Regions from separate parts of the Homo sapiens genome. Here regions 1 and 2 are each linked to region 3. The links are contacts of gene promoters, found by promoter capture Hi-C in blood cells and fetal thymus (Javierre and others, 2016). All regions are on one chromosome and are shown on one strand. Each heading gives the region's core, a stretch centred on a gene start or on the middle of the fragment in contact. The rest is flanking DNA. Distances are from core to core; before and after follow the strand shown.

Region 1 (3,715 bases), core at 739-3,238, 540 kb before region 3:
GCCAACTTTAACATTCCTTTCTCAGTAAATGATAAAACAAATAGGAAAAAAATCAGAAGAATATAGATTTGAACAACACTATCAACCTAATTGACTCAATTGATATGTACGGAACACTACATCCAACAACAGCAGAACACATATTCTTCTCAAGTGCAGATGGAACCCCAACCAACACAGACAACTTCTGGGCAATCGAGCAAGCCTCAATAAATTACAAAGGGTCAAAATCATACAAAGTACGATTTCTGACCAAAATGATGTTGAATTAGAAATCAACAACAAAAAGACATCTAGGAATTTTCTAAATATTTTGAAATGAAAAAATATCTACTTCCAAATAACCCAAGAACCAAAGAAGAAACCACAAGTAAAATTATTGGTAGAACATATCTTTCACTGAATAGAAATGCAAATAAAATATGAAAATTTGGGAATTCAACAAAACAACTGATTAGAGGAAAAGGAACTACTTATATTAGAAAAGCAGAAAGGTCCCAAAATAATTATTTAAATTTCTACTTTAAGAAACTAGAGCCGGTCACGGTGGCTCACACCTGTAATCCCAGCACTTTGGGAGGCCGAGGCAGGCAGATCATGAGGTCAAGAGATCGAGATGATCCTGACCAACATGGTGAAACCCCATCTCTACTAAAAAATACAAAAATTAGCTGGGCGTGGTGGTGTGCACCTGTAATCCCAGCTACTCAGGAGGCTGAGGCAGAAGAATTGCTTGAATCTGGGAGGCAGAAGTTGCAGTGAGCCAAGATCACACCACTGCACTCCAGCCTGGGCAACAAGAGCAAAACTTCGTTTCAAAACAAAACAAAACAAAAAGATCAATGAAATTGATAAGCCTCTAGCCAGACTGATCAGAAAAAAAAAATGGAGAGAAGATACAAATTACCAATATGGAGAATAAGAGAGAGGGGGCATTATTACAGATCCTACAAACATAAAAAAGTGATAAGAGGATGTTGTGAAAAACTTATTCCAATACATCCAACAACTTAGATGAAATGGACAAATTCCTTGAAAGATACAAATGGTCAACGCTCATTTAGGAAAAAATAGATAACCTGATTAGCCCTGTATCTGTCAGAAGAGTTGAATTTATAACTGAAAAAATTCTCACAAAGAAAACTCCAGGTTTGTGTAAATAATACCAATTCTATACTAACTCTTCCAGAAAACAGAAAAAGAGAGAACACTTCCCAACTCGTTTTATAAAGTCAGCATTATACTCATCCCCAAACCAAAGATATTACAGAAAGGGAAAACGTAGACCAGCATCTCTCATTAATACAGATGTAAAAATGGTAAACAACAGCCAGGCACAGTGGCTCACACCTGTCATCCCAGCACTTTGGGAGGCCAAGGTGGGTGGATCAGAGGTCAAGAGATCGAGACCATCCTGGTTAACATGATGAAACCCTGTCTCTACTAAAAACACAAAAATTGGCCGGGTGTGGTGGCTCATGCCTGTAATCCCAGCACTTTGGGAGGCCGAGGCAGGTGGATCACCTGAGGTCGGGAATTCGAGACCAGCCTGACCAACATGAAGAAACCCCGTCTCTACTAAAAGTACAAAATTAGCTGGGCATGGTGGCGCTTGCCTGTAATCCCAGCTACTTGGGAGGCTGAGGCAAGAGAATCTCTTGAACCTGGGAGGCGAAGGTTGCAGTGAGCCAAGATCTCGCCATTGCACTGCAGCCTGGGCAACAAGAGTGAAACTCCGACTCAAAAAAAAAAAGAAAAAAAAGAAAAAAATTCAATACTCACTTGTGATAAAAGCTTTCAGTATACCGGGTGACAGAGTGAGAGACTATGCCTCCTCCCCACCAAAAAAAATATAAAAAAAAAAAAGAAGTTACACAAAATACTATGTACTCTTTTATTTATTTATTTATTTTTATTATTATTTTTTTTTGAGACGGAGTCTTGCTGTGTCACCCAGGCTGGAGTGCAATGGCAAGATCTCGGCTCACTGAAACCTCCGCCTCCCGGGTTCAAGCGATTCTCCAGCCTCAGCCTCTGAGTAGCTGGGATTACAGGCTTGCGCCACCACGCCCGGCTAATTTTTGAAAATACTACATACTCTATGATTCTATTTATATAAAATTCTAGAAAAGGAAAATCTATAGTGATAGATCAGTGGTTGCTAGGCTTTCAGGTAGGGGAAGAAGCTTGACTGCAAAAGGCCACGAGGGAACTTTCTGGAATGTCGAAAATATTTATTCTATGTCATGATTGTGGTTGTGGTTACACGACTGTATACATTTGTCAAATCTTACTGAACAGTACAATTACAATTAATGAATTTTACTGTATGCTAATCATACCTCAATAAAGCCGAAAAAAAAAAAAGTCATTCTGGAGGAGAGAAATCATTGCCTGCGGAGGGCCATTCCAGGGTGGTGAGTGCATGAGCACTGAAGACACCCGGAGCAGCTGCTGCAATAATCTGGGGGAGGAACGTGCAGGCAGAGAGAGCAAGAGGAAGTCAGACTGGGAAACCCCGAGGCAGTTACCCAAACAGCCCACTAACAGCAACTGCAGTCGGCCGCCTCTGGGGAGGAAAGCGGGAGGGGCCACTGCCTTTAAAAAAGAAAAAAAAAAAAAATCTCTGCAGTTTTGCCAGGGAGCCGCCTCCTGCCTGACTCTCACATGATGACCTGGAGGCCATCTATGGGTACGGCCCTCAAGCCCTCAACGCTCACCCTCCTTCTACCCCCCGCCCCTCACCCCAGCACCTGCTGGAGACCCTGGCCCTCCCTTCCACTCCGCGAGGCTCTTAATCTATCCAGTTCCATGGGCTGCCTTTCCGCAGCTATAAACAGGCTCTGTCCAGCTTTCCCAGTTATTATTCACTTAGGTGAATGGACACAATTAGATGATCATCCGCAGGCTGTCTTCCTGTCATCATTGGCACACGCACACACCCTCACACACGCACACACCCTCACACACGCACACACCCTCACACACGCGCACACCCTCACACACAACCCCCCCAACGCCACACACACACACACCACACACCCTCACACACAACCACCCACGCCACACACACACCACACACCCTCACATGCACACCCTCACACACCACACACCACACACACCCCACACACACGCCCACCCTCACATACGCACACTCTCACACACACCCTCACACACTCTCACACCCTCACACACGCACACCCTCACACACACCCTCACATTCACACAAGTACACTTGAGTTTTTATTAAATTTGTTTTTGTCCCCTTCAATCCCATCCTCCAACCCGTTGTTCCTCCCTATCTCCTGGGCTCTAGGTATTCTCCTTCGGGTCACAGTCCCTGTGAGGGCCGTTCCTGTTGACAGGCACTTGGCTCCGTCCTTCCCACTGCCCACAGGCTCCACCATCTGCACATGCACCCCTCCCACACAATCGGGGGCCTCTTTCTCCTCGTCCTTGGCTGCCTCCTCTTTGTCTTCCACCCCTTACAAATCCTTCAGGGCCCTTTAAATGCCTTTTCCACCTGCCTGCTCCCTCTAGCCCCGCTGCCCAGTGTTAAGTGGGTCGCACCATTTCTCTCCTGGGTGACAGGCACAGCTTCCACCAGCCTCCCTGCCTCCACTCTTCTCTGCAGAAGCCCATGTGCTCCTGGGGCAGAGCCCAGGTCCTTCCATCTCTGCAGCCACAGTGCTAGGCCAGCGGCACTTGCAGTTTG
Region 2 (3,284 bases), core at 368-2,867, 520 kb before region 3:
AAGTGAAGCACTCCAGACTGGAAGGCTCTGGGGGAGGGCGCAGAGGAGAAGGTTGACCTCACAGGTGCCTGGTGTGGAGGACAGTGCTGGGACGAGGTAGCGATCAACTCCTAGCAATGGGCATGTTCTAGCAAGCAGCATTCCTGAGGCAAGAGAGTTATAAATTCCAGAAGAAAAGGAAAAATTGTCCAAGGAAGGACATGTGATCCTAATACAGTACATGGCTCAGCTGCCAACAGTACCTGTTGTCATGGTGATTTAAACATTGAATGTTAATTTAGCCAAAAATTCTGGGATAAGCCCACTGGGAGAACAAGATGCAGGGAAGCGTGTGGTGGCTGTGAGAGATGCTGGTGGCACTGGGTCATCATTGGCCAATGGAAAATGGCTGCTTGACACCGGGAGGTGGGTGGCTGTTTCTGGGGGTGGGAGCTGGGAACGGGAGGGGTGGGTTAGGGAGCAGCTGTGACGCCATCGGAAGCCCTGGTGATGCCGGACTCTTCGTAAAGTTCCAAGTCGGCCCGAAAGGGGCCCAATGTAATCCCAGATCATTGACAATGCCCATCAGGATAAACTGCTGCAGGAAAAACTAGCTCGACGGAGAAGGATAAAGAAGCCCCATTCCATCTTACTGCCAAGTTTGTGTCACGAAATTTAAAAACACAGAGAAACCAGCCTAGAACAATGTATGGGCAGCTACACGGCTGCCTGCTGCACGGTTTGAACAGTTAGTGTCTTGCCCTCCTTGGCCATTGCGGGGGTGCACCCTTGGAGTGAGGCTGCAAATGGAAGTGGGACACTTCTCTAGCTGCCGCACTGCCTGAGACCATGGAGAACTTGGATTCCTGAGCAAAGTGTGGGTCATGCCACTCCACTGCCCACCATTACAGTGAAGGCCAGAGAATGCCAAGCCCAGCAGGGGGTGACCCTCACCTCATCCCCATCATGGGGGTGGTAGTCAAAGCGCAGCGGGGGACAGAAGACGGTAGCATGCACCTCGAGAACCTTGGCTTTGTCCCCTGGAGGATCCAGGGCCTCCACAGCTTCTTCCAGGCTGCCCAGGCCCTGCACTTGGGAGGCTTGGGTGCGGCTCTCAGCGGCCGTGTAGCTCCGGAGCACCTGCCCCAGGGCCAGGTGGAACCCTGTGTCACAGCACTGAGGAGGAAACAAGGAGATGCTTGGGTAGGTCCTGGAGCCACAGCTTCCCAGCCCCGAGGCACCAGGCACCTTTTCCCACCTGCCCACCAAGGACTCACGTCCATGAGGTCCAAGACGTCATGCAGGTAGTAGTTACTGACAGCAGCGTTGACACTAGCCAGGCTAAGCAGGTACTCGTTGCGCGCCTTTGTGCACTTGAGTTTGTGCTCCATGAACTTGGCCTGCCGCTACTCAAGACAATGCAAGCGTGCCAGGGTCACGCACGTGGCCAGCCCCTATCTCTAGCCTTTCATGTAATGCCCATCGCCTCCCCTCCCACTGTGGACAACTACACCTGAACTGGTCAAGCCCAGAAGTCCTGCTGCCTTCCCCACGCCACAGTCCACAGTGTGCTCAGCCCAGTGCCAGGAGGTGACTTGATTCCCCGGCTGTTCACCCGCCACTTGCCTTGGTTCGAGCCACAACATTCCCCACAGAAGTGGGGGATGACACAGAACTATTCACAGATACCTGATGAGTGGAAGGTGCGCACATGGCACCCCACCATGGAGGGTGCACGAGAAACCCAGCTTGGAGCCAGCACACAGGTGCACAGCTGGAAGCGGCCACAGGCCTCTGCGGGGGCCAGAGCTGAGGGGGAACGAGTACCCCAAAGGGTAGGGATAGATCATCAAGAGCCATGAAACAGAACCTGCTGGCACCTGGGTTCTAAAACTGGCACTCTATTTTTTTTTTATTTTTTTTTTTTGAGACAGAGTCTCGCTCTGTCGCCCAGGCTGGAGTACAGTGGTGCAATCTTAGATCACTGCAACCTCCGCCTGCTGTGTTCAAGTGATTCTCCCGCCTCAGCCTCCCAAGTAGCTGGGATGACAGGCACCCGCCATCATGCCCGGCTAATTTTTGTATTTTTAGTAGAGATGGGGTTTCACCATGTTGGCCACACTGATCTTGAACTCCTGACTTCGTGATCCACCCACCTCAGCCTCCCAAAATGCTAGGATTACAGGCGTGAGTCACCGCACCTGGCTAAAGCTGGCACGCTAACCACAGCAGCCAGGGAGACCTTCCCCCAACACAGCCAAACTCTGTCATTTCCCCTAAGAACACCTGAGATGCTCGACTCCCTCCTCTGCTCCCAGAGTCCCAGAGACCATGACTGTCAGCCACGCACAGCCTGGCGGCTCCATCCAGGCATTTCCCAGCCTCCCCACTCTCTGTACTGGGCTCACCTCGAAGGCCCTTTCTCCGTGCGTGTCACCCCATCACCCACCCTAAGTGTCTTCTTGCCCCCCTCTGAAACCTTACGGAATGGCTGGCAGAACAGCAGAGCTGCAGGGGCCCCGCTGGGAGCATGGAGAGGCTGCATGGGGCTGTCCAGGGCCAGGCAACTGTTTTCCCCACTCTCTCAGGCCCTGGGAGCCTTCCGTATGGAATCCCTGGAACCTGATGGCACTGTCCTGCCACTCCTGCCCTCCCCTGCACCCAGCCCTGACTTCCCCCTCAGCACAGCAGGTCCTAGTTAGGGCCCATGGCCCATAGGCCTGCGTCTGAGGTGCCCTCCAGGCCCACCTTCTCCACCAGCCTCCCTCCCTTCTTGAGGGAGCTCTTGCGGAGGGGCCCTGCCTCAGTGGCACCAGCGGTGGTGGTGGGGACACTCCGGCCTGCCCGCTTCTCCTCCTGCCGCTCGGCCTCCCGGAGCTTGGCCTCGGCATTCACGCTCTCCATGTGATATGCCTGGTACGTCTTCTTGGCCTGCAGGGAGACCCAAAGCAAGGTGGTGCTGGTGAAGGCCACGGCTGGGCCAGCCCCCAGCCCTCTACCCCTGCCCCTCTGGAACTTGGACCTCAGAGCTGGGCGATCCCATGTGAGCACTTAGCCTAACGCCCTGTGCCTAGGGAGAGAGGCCTTTGCCCCTAGGTGCGTGCTTCTCCCTGAGCCTGGCTTGGGGTGATGTGATGGTCTGGCGGTGTTCCTCCCCCACTGTGAGTGGCATTTCTCCCTGGACCATTGGGGCAGGCCCCTCCCCAGCCCTTTCCTCACCGTCTGGAGCTCTGAGACCACCTCCAGGAGCTCATCCTGCAGCTGCTGCTCCAGATCCCTGCTCTAGAGGCAGAGGCAAGGGTGAG
Region 3 (3,070 bases), core at 571-3,070:
CCTCGAAGTCCACAGCAATGGCTCCGTCGCCTACTTCAATGCTTCCCAGGTCACAGGGCCCAGCATCTACTCCTTCCACTGCGAGTATGTCAGCAGCCTGAGCAAGAAGGGTAGTCTCCTCGTGGCCCGCACGCAGCCCTCTCCCTGGCAGATGATGCTTCAGGACTTCCAGGTATGGAGCGGGCGTGGCCCAGCTTCAGGTGGGGGAGCCCAGGCTAGTGGTTGAGAGACGAAGAGAGGCTTGGGCTTGGGCATGTAGTTGAGAGTCCTGTCCCTGCGCTGCCCCTGTCCCAGTTCTTGCTGGGCCTCCCAACGGTCCTTTCTGACCCGTGTCTGTGTGTCTGCCAGATCCAGGCTTTCAACGTAATGGGGGAGCAGTTCTCCTACGCCAGCGACTGTGCCAGCTTCTTCTCCCCCGGCATCTGGATGGGGCTGCTCACCTCCCTGTTCATGCTCTTCATCTTCACCTATGGCCTGCACATGATCCTCAGCCTCAAGACCATGGATCGCTTTGATGACCACAAGGGCCCCACTATTTCTTTGACCCAGATTGTGTGACCCTGTGCCAGTGGGGGGGTTGAGGGTGGGACGGTGTCCGTGTTGTTGCTTTCCCACCCTGCAGCGCACTGGACTGAAGAGCTTCCCTCTTCCTACTGCAGCATGAACTGCAAGCTCCCCTCAGCCCATCTTGCTCCCTCTTCAGCCCGCTGAGGAGCTTTCTTGGGCTGCCCCCATCTCTCCCAACAAGGTGTACATATTCTGCGTAGATGCTAGACCAACCAGCTTCCCAGGGTTCGTCGCTGTGAGGCGTAAGGGACATGAATTCTAGGGTCTCCTTTCTCCTTATTTATTCTTGTGGCTACATCATCCCTGGCTGTGGATAGTGCTTTTGTGTAGCAAATGCTCCCTCCTTAAGGTTATAGGGCTCCCTGAGTTTGGGAGTGTGGAAGTACTACTTAACTGTCTGTCCTGCTTGGCTGTCGTTATCGTTTTCTGGTGATGTTGTGCTAACAATAAGAAGTACACGGGTTTATTTCTGTGGCCTGAGAAGGAAGGGACCTCCACGACAGGTGGGCTGGGTGCGATCGCCGGCTGTTTGGCATGTTCCCACCGGGAGTGCCGGGCAGGAGCATGGGGTGCTTGGTTGTTTCCTTCCTAATAAAATAAACGCGGGTCGCCATGCGTTGGGCCTCTTGTCGCTCATTTCTGCGCTGGGCTTTAGGCGCGTGCTCGCCGGAGGGATGCGGGAGGATGGAGCCTGGCGAGGGGGAGGCGAAGAGGCATCCGCGGAGACCGGGAGGGGCTTTAGCAAGCTGGGCCCTAACCGCTCAGGGTAGGGAGGGGCGGTCGGGCCGAGTCCCGGTGCGCTTCGGCGTCTCAGGAGGCCGTCGTGACAATGGCAGCCTTCGCGTCGTGAGGGGGCCGCCCCAGGCTGCCGCAGCGGCGCGCGCCCGGCCGCGGGGCCGCGCCGAGACTCCCGGGGGGGTGGGCGGGGGTGGGGAGGTGGGCGGGCGCGCGCGGGGCGGGGCGGGGCGGGGCGCGGCGGGTGGGGCGGGGCGCGCGCGGCTCCCGCGCACGGATTCTTCCTGGGCCGCAGCACCGGCCGCCGGCCCGCCCCGCCCGCCCCGCCCCGCGCCTCTCTAGACTCTCGGCGAGCAGCGTCGCCCGCGGAGCCGCGCTGGTGCTGTGGCCCGGGCCCTGGCAGCCCTCCCGGGAGGCGAGCCGGGGAGGCGGTGGCCCCTGCCGGTTGCGGCGGGGCGCGGGAAGAGGCGGGACTCTTTGACGCGGCGGAGGGGTCGGGCGACGGCCGACGCGCCGCCATCTTTGGTCCAGTGCGGTGGCGGCGGCGGCGGTGGCGGCGGCGACTGCTGCGGTGAAGGAGGAGGAGGAGCCGAGCGGGCGCTGGCACCGAGGCCTGACCATGGACGAGGAATACGATGTGATCGTGCTGGGGACCGGTCTCACCGTAAGTGCGGCCCCGGCGCCCCTGGCCCTGCGTCGTGCCCTCGCCATCCCCCGCGATGATGCGGCCGCCGGCCCATCCTCTGGTCACTGCCATCTTCTGCGCTCCGCTCCCCGAAAAGCCGGCGCCGTGCCCACCCCGCTGCTCCCCCAGCGACGTCGCCTCTGCTCGTTGCCATGACCCCATCTCCCCGAAGAGGCCCCCTTCCTGGCCGCCTCCTGGGCTACCCGGGTCCGACCCCCGGCGCCCTCCCATCTTCCCTACCCCTGCCCGCTGGACCGGAAAACGCACCCCCACTCGGCCCGATGCCCACGACCCCGCCCACCCATCGCCCCCACCCATCACGGCATCCACCCGTCGCCCGCACCCATTGCCCGCCTAGCGTTGCCTCTCAGCGTCCGTTCCCATCTTGCGCTAATCCCGGTGGGGATGAAGTAGAAGGACCTGGGGTCAGGGGGCCTCGCCAGAGTGGGCCCTCAGCCCGCCTCCTCATCGTCTTCTGGGGCCAGGGGATCCAGGGAATGTTCCAGAAGGAACAGCAGTGGGGGCAGTAAGCACATTCCCGCAACCCCACCTCGGTTGCCCATGGAGACCTCAGGCTGGGTAGCATCTGCAGCCTTTGTCCTTGGGCTAGTGACAGTGACTGGTGAGGGTGTTTATCTTCCCCCTTTCCCCGAAAACCCCGTTGGCCTACTCCCCTCAGAGACTCTTCTTCCTCGGTCCAGGCCCAGATGCCCCTCCTCAGCGGCAGGGGCTCCTGCTATTTGAAGAAAGAGCAGTCCAGGGTGGGGCCTACAATTTCAAGGACTGTGCTAAGCCTTTCTTTTCCTCCCTTTCGAGTGTCCTTTGCAGTCCAGCTGGGTCTTCTCTGTGCCTTATTGTGTTTTATCCGCCTTTTTGTGCGGCTCTGCGTAGGTAGATGCCTCTCGGCGTGTTGGTACTGGAAGGCCATCCTGTGTCTGCTGGATGCCCTGCCTCCCTCAAAGCCTCCGTTATTTCACTCTCCGCCTTGTGAGGGGGACGGGACTCCTTTGCCCAGCAAGGTTGCAATGGAGAGTGTGGTCGGATGAAGCCATCACCCCAATTTTAGGCGAGGCAACTAGCCAG

Evidence for each region. Contacts are between HindIII fragments. The CHiCAGO score rates a contact against its expected background, and 5 or more counts as called.
Region 1: a fragment that was not itself captured here is called in contact with the fragment with the promoter of GDI1 in region 3 in 2 of 17 cell types (monocytes and non-activated CD4 T cells); the score reaches 5.9 in monocytes.
Region 2: a fragment that was not itself captured here is called in contact with the fragment with the promoter of GDI1 in region 3 in 1 of 17 cell types (monocytes); the score reaches 6.1 in monocytes.

The regions. Positions count from the first base shown.
Region 1 is chrX:153,898,495-153,902,209 of GRCh38, forward strand. No RefSeq gene overlaps it. Among named protein-coding and RNA genes, the nearest start is that of AVPR2, 4.3 kb to the right of the region's middle. The HindIII fragment of the contact is 392 bases long and covers 1,793-2,184 here.
Region 2 is chrX:153,917,899-153,921,182 of GRCh38, forward strand. It overlaps ARHGAP4 (Rho GTPase activating protein 4), which reads right to left. Exons shown (of 22, transcript NM_001666.5): 4 at 3,199-3,261; 5 at 2,728-2,910; 6 at 1,257-1,385; 7 at 934-1,155. Among named protein-coding and RNA genes, the nearest start is that of ARHGAP4, 6.7 kb to the right of the region's middle. RefSeq lists an enhancer at 3,043-3,284. The HindIII fragment of the contact is 4,186 bases long and covers 1-3,284 here.
Region 3 is chrX:154,435,334-154,438,403 of GRCh38, forward strand. It overlaps GDI1 (GDP dissociation inhibitor 1), which reads left to right and starts at 1,821. Exons shown (of 11, transcript NM_001493.3): 1 at 1,821-1,966. The coding sequence starts at 1,922. It overlaps ATP6AP1 (ATPase H+ transporting accessory protein 1), which reads left to right. Exons shown (of 10, transcript NM_001183.6): 9 at 1-172; 10 at 349-1,183. The coding sequence ends at 558. RefSeq lists an enhancer at 1,353-1,853. The HindIII fragment of the contact is 14,364 bases long and covers 1-3,070 here.